Regions from separate parts of the Homo sapiens genome. Here region 2 is linked to region 1. Evidence: promoter capture Hi-C in human tissues and cell types (Jung and others, 2019). All regions are on one chromosome and are shown on one strand. The core of a region is centred on a gene start or on the middle of the fragment in contact, and the rest is flanking DNA. Distances in the headings are between cores, read along the strand shown. Region 1 holds the start of MRO (maestro). Region 2 has its middle 43 kb from the start of MRO.

Region 1 (2,964 bases), core at 270-2,769:
TGATCTTACTGAAGATACATGGATTTGGGGTAACTTAGAAGACTGTTTTATGCTTTACACTGACTCCCATCTGCTTTTGCAAACTTGAATGATTCTGACTCAAAATATTAGATTTTTGGTCAATAATCCTTTTATTTATTGAAGCCAAAAGGTATATTATGAAGGCCAAAATTATAAAACACTTTGATTTTATCTCATCTGTAAAATGAGCAGAAGAAACTGTTAGATTGCTTAAAAATCCTTCCAACACTGAACTTATAAATGACAATAGTAGGCTGCGTGTGGTGGCTCATGCCTATAAATCCCAGCATTTTGGGAGGCTGAGGCAGGCAGATTGCTTGAGGTCAGGAGATCAAGACCAGCCTGAGCAACATGGTGAAACCCCGCCTCTACTAAAAATACAAAAATTAGCCAGACATGGTGGTGCACACCTGTAGTCCCAGCTACTCAGGAGGCTGAGGCAGAAGAATCACTTGAACCCAGGAGACAGAGGTTGCAGTGAGCCGAGATCGGGCCACCGCACCCCAGCTTGGGCAACACAACAAGACCCTGTCTCAAAAAAATGAAAAAAAAAATTAATATTAAAAAAATCGTCTTCATTTTAGAAAAGAAGAAACTGGGCTTAAAGTAATGTTGAACAATTAACTCAAAGTCAAATACTGGCAGAGCAGATTTTAGGACTCTGAAAGATATCCTTTCAGTCACTGTGCTATAAGCCTAGGTTCAGCTCCCAGGCAATGTCCTGTGAGCTGAACGAGGGAAGACAGACCGCATAGACATTTCAGTTTAAAGTGTCAATATCTTCCCTGAGTCCCTGCCATTCTATTATATTGCTGACAATAGAATGATCTATAACCCAACTATTGATCGATTAACATAGTTTGTGAAAAGCAAACAAAATCAGCTTCCTGGTCAACATTGCCCACTTCAGTTTTACAAAGAGAACATTACCAAATCCTACCCCCTAGAGGTCGAGCTCCCATACTGGTGACCAGAGTGACATTCCAGAAAGGTTTTGGGAACCCAAGTGCAGCCAGGACGCCTCCCGCTGCATCTGGCTGCCCCGGCCAACAGTGTCCCTTACCTGCGGCTCCTGCAGGCGGCTGCCACGTGATGAACCGGAGCCCGTTCCTGACTCGGGAGGGCTGCTTTCCCGGGTAGTAGCCAAATGTGATGACTCGGCTAAATTTTCCCAGCCCTGAATTCCTAACATACAAGAAGGGAAATTAGGAGGTGACGCAGGGTCTGTCCAGGATAACGGGTCGGCACAGAGTGTTGGAAAGTGAGAATCAAATAAGAGGGGAAAGTCAAAGTTTATAGAGTATTTGGGCAGGGGAGGGAATTGTTCTGGAATGAAACCGACAAGAATATTGTAGGGTGGCACAAGCATGACTTGCTACCTTTGCTTCCCCACGCCATGCTGAGGTGTTTTTCCTTCTCCTTGCTGTGATTTCCCCTCCTTCTTCCCTCATGCCAGCCTGGTCGACACTTTCTGCAGAAATTCTGCAGATGGCAATTCTGGGGACCTTTCCTCTGCACCAAACAAAACCTCCCTGCCAAGGCCCGTTCCCCATGCGGCCGCGAGATGGCGGCATGACTCAATGGACGGGTTCCAGGCGACCCCTGCACAAAGCCGCCGCCGTGGCTGCCTCCTTCCTTACATAATCCTGTTAGAGCGCATTTAATCTAAGGATGGGACACTGTGTTCCATGCCAAGCAGCCTCATCGTGGCTGATTGTTGCACCAACAACAAGAGCTTTAACCGTTGACGTCCCTTCCTGCTCAAGAAACACCGTATGTCCCGAAAGGAGCGATTTAAGCTCTCAAAATGATTTATTGGTAAAAAGCAAAGCAAAATTAAAACCGGGGAATTACAGCACCTGCAGAATTTAGGAGCCTCTCTCTCTCATCAGCCCTCCTTCCCTGACTCTCCAAACACGTGCATAAATCTATTTAACAATAATTAGTTATCGTCTCGCTCTGCATTGGGTCATAAAGGGAGAAAATATGTCCTGAAAGGAAAAAAGAACAGTTATATTTTCAAAGACAGAGGCACTTATTGTTATGCTAATAGATAACATTCAATTAAAACTTCTGTGTGCCAAATGTTGTGATAAATATTACATAGACTATCTCATTCAATTGTTACATCAAACCAAAGGTTAATACTCCTACTATAGTCTCCATTTTAAGGCTGGAGAAACTGAGGCACAGGGAGATTACCTTGACAAAGGTCATGCAGTTAATTTGTGGCAGTTAAAATTCAGCTACAGGCAGGCTAATGTAAGAGCTTGGACTCAGCCATGATGCTATGCACTGGACTGGTCTAGAAAACCCAGGAGATAAACAGAAAAATATAAACCAGAGAACTATGTCAGAGTGGAAGATGAAAGAAAAAGGCAGAAAGAAAATCGATGCTGCTGAGAAAATAAGAAGAATGAGGCTAAAACACCACCCTCTTCAGATTAAGTTACAAGGGAACCACTGTGACATTTGAGGACACAATTTCAATAGAGTGACAGAGAAAGGAAGCTAGACTGCAAAACTAAGGGGCTATGAGGAAAGAGGAAATTGAGATGTCTTGCTGCAAAAGGAAAGCAATAAATAGACTAGAAGAGACAGCAAGGTCAGGCAAAAGCATTTTGGTTTTCTTGTGTGCTTTTTGAAATGGAATAAAGCCTGGCCTTGTTTGAAAGTGGTTGCAAGGGAGCCCTAATATGTGGCTGGTGCCAAGTAGTGGTAATAGGAAGAGGTGGAGGGGGCATCAAGGGCACGAGGGAAAGGGTTAGCTCTGGAGGAGGAAGAAAGATGGCTGCCTCTGCCTGCAACTGGGAGGCAGCCACAGAGATGAAGATACATCAACACAAAACTGAGAGGAATGGGCGAGTTCAATTCTTCCAAATTAGCTTTAATCTTTTCAGTAAAACCAGAGTTAGGTTATCTGCCAAGAGCGAGAATGAGGTT
Region 2 (2,964 bases), core at 281-2,780, 43 kb before region 1:
AGGAGAATCCTGCAACATTTTTGGTGTGCAACGTGTGGGCTCGAGAAGCAGTGACTGAAGTGGGGACTCAAAACCTCTCACTCTTGCTTTTACGCCTTTTCATCCTCGGACTTCTGAGGGTGGGGGAAACCATGCCTCCACCCCTACCGCCCCCCACCCCCATCGCTCCTGGACTTTTTCACTGCCTTTTCCTTCCTTTTTCAGGACCCACCAGGGAGCTCACCATGGCTCCCCTCTCCCTGCCGGGGCTGGGATGCATGGCCCAAGCGTCCCGCACAGCTGGCTGTCTGGTTCCCAGCAACATGCATCCTTCCCCTTCCCTGGCCAAGGGCTTTAACAATATCGGACAGTGATTAAGCTTAAACTTGTCTCCTGGCGGGGCGCGGTGGCTCATGCCTGTAATTCCAGCACTTTGGGAGGCTGGGGCTGGCGGATCACGAGGTCAGGCGATGGAGACCATCCTGGCTAACACGGTGAAACCCTGTCTCTACTAAAAATACAAAAAAAAATTAGCCGGGCGTGGGGGCAGGCACCTGTAATCCCAGCTACTCAGGAGGCTGAGGCAGGAGAATACCGGGAGGCAGAGCTTGCAGTGAGCCGAGATCGCGCCACTGCACTCCAGCCTGGGCAACAGAGAGAGACTCCGTCTCAAAAAACAAAAACAAAACAGAACAAAAAAATCTTGTCTCCCTGGTGGAGGAACCACTTGCATAAGAATAAGACGTTCTTCCCCAGGCATTAAACTTTTTCTTTTCTTTCCCCTTCTCTACCCAGTCAGCAAGTTAACTTTAAAAAATGTTTTTTCTTTTAGAAGATGTTTTACTAGGCTAGGCAACCCCCCCAGCCCCCCACCGCTCCCCCAACTATCACTGTATTATCTGCAAAGTTTTGGCTGTGAAATCAAGCCTCCATCTTGTTTTCTATCCTGAGGGCATAGCTGGTAGCCACTTGGCAGCTTTGTTTAGCAGTCCTGCCTGAGGGGATGAGCCCTCTCGGGTTCGATAGCTGCATGTTTTCCTATCCCTGTCTCTTAAAGGCCCCCAGCCAGTGACTGGGTTCTCTTATGAATGTGTGTACTGTGTATGATGTCTGTAAAAAGAGCTCTAATTAATTTGGCATAAAGAAGCGCAAACCCTTGGATCAACTACTTTTCTTAAGGCAAGGTAAAGGCTGTAGTACCTTTCAGTTCAGGTGACTTTAACCTTCAAGAAAAAAAAACAGCCCTAAAGACTATTGGTAAAATGCAGGTCAGAGGCAAGGTTTGTTAAGTATTTTGAGGTTACAAACTGCTTTCTGGGTTTTGAGAACTATTTGACTTGCCAGCTTCACAACTGGCAAGGCCTAGGGACATGTGGAAGTAACCACCCTTTAACTAAGAAGGCAGACCTTGGCTGCAGTTAGCACACAATTAAAGCAACTTACCAAGTTTTACCTTAAAGTTAAAAATTAGGAGGGATTACCATTATAACATGTAATTGTGGACTACTGGAAATAGATTTAGAATCAAGGGGTATAAAAACAATAAAATGTGGTTTTTGTTTTGTTTTGTTTTTTGGAAAAGGTTATGAGAAGGCATGGAAATGTAAACTGTGGTCTAGGGTTAAAGGATTGTTTTGAGTTAGATAGGAAAAGCTGAAGGTTCAAAGAAGTGGTGGAAGAATTGTGGAAATTAATCTTGGAGAAGAGGTTCTCTGTGTGAAAATATTGACTAAATTCAAAAAAGGGTATTATATGGTTTTTCTGTAAGTTGAGCATTGAAATAAAAGCATAACAAAGTTTTCCTAAGGCGCTAATCTGCTCTTTGGCAAAATAAATAACTTATGGTAATCTGGAATTCTATTTCATAATATCAAGTGTTTTAAACCTCAAACAATTAACAGCCTTCCCAAAATCAAACTTCAGTTTCAAAATTGTCTTCCATGGCACCTAGCTTTTCAGATACTTCAGAGGGTGCCTGAAGTGTCCAGAAAAGAGAGGTAAACAGGATTGTTTGACATGTTTAGGTACATGGGATTGCCAAAATAATGCTCAATCTTCTTTAGTTTATATATTGGGGAATAATGCTAATATGTGTTCCAAAATTGTATGAGATTGCTGAAATTCTAATGTCTGAGTATATGCTATCAATTATAACTAAGATTGTTATGTTACGTTGTTGTAAACCACAGAAGATAACCACACTTCTTTGTCATTTGTGTTTCTAACTGTAACTATCCTGGACATTTTGCTATTCACAGACAGTTGTTGTCTTGTTTTAATCCTTTCAAAACGTAGTTCATAATAAGCTGTAGGACTTTGACAGGTGCACTCAAATACAGGCTTCTGATAATTGGATATTGTGACTTTGGAATACAGGAAAATGTACAGGACTCATGAGCTGAAATGCTCACAAATATCTAGCAAAACAAGAGTTAACTAAATGGACTGAACTCAGGAAGCTGAAGCAACCTTTTTGACTTTTGCTTGGAATATTGCTGATCCTTGTTTTGTTTTTCAGAGTCAAGGAAACTTATTTTGAGCTATTTACAGCCTTTAATAATTAAGCATTTTGATCCTATGATCAAAATTTGGAGGATGTTTGTTTCTCTCTGCCTGGTTCCTCCAGAACTTAGAAACTATCTTTGAGTATTCTTAACCTATGGAAATATAGGTGTTTGCATCAGTTCAATAAGAATTTGTTTTTCTTTTGCAACAGGACAGAATTGGAGAAAATGGTTATTTTACTAAGGCTTTGACTGGAAGGGTATGCTTCCCTTTAAGGAGTTAAGCTCGAATTGCAGAGCCAATAAAAGCCCCATGGGGAAACTGGCCTCATACCCTCATCTTCACAGTCCCTGTACAGGGTTCCTGACCTGTGGCCAGTAAAGAATGTCACTTTCTAACAGGTCTAGGAGCTCCAAGTTTATCTTGGGACCTTAAGAGGAGAGGATCACCCAACTCACAGGTATTTGAGGATACAAACCC

What was found. Contacts are between HindIII fragments. The study calls those that stand out against the background at their distance.
Region 2: a contact is called between a fragment that was not itself captured here and the fragment with the promoter of MRO in region 1, in 1 of the 25 tissues and cell types used here (pancreas).

What each region holds. Positions count from the first base shown.
Region 1 is chr18:50,818,497-50,821,460 of GRCh38, forward strand. MRO (maestro) reads right to left here and starts at 1,520. Exons shown (of 8, transcript NM_031939.6): 1 at 1,401-1,520; 2 at 1,085-1,206. RefSeq lists enhancers at 1,205-1,838, 1,675-1,724. The HindIII fragment of the contact is 21,582 bases long and covers 1-2,964 here.
Region 2 is chr18:50,775,626-50,778,589 of GRCh38, forward strand. No RefSeq gene overlaps it. Among named protein-coding and RNA genes, the nearest start is that of MRO, 43 kb to the right of the region's middle. RefSeq lists an enhancer at 546-1,253. The HindIII fragment of the contact is 4,394 bases long and covers 1-2,964 here.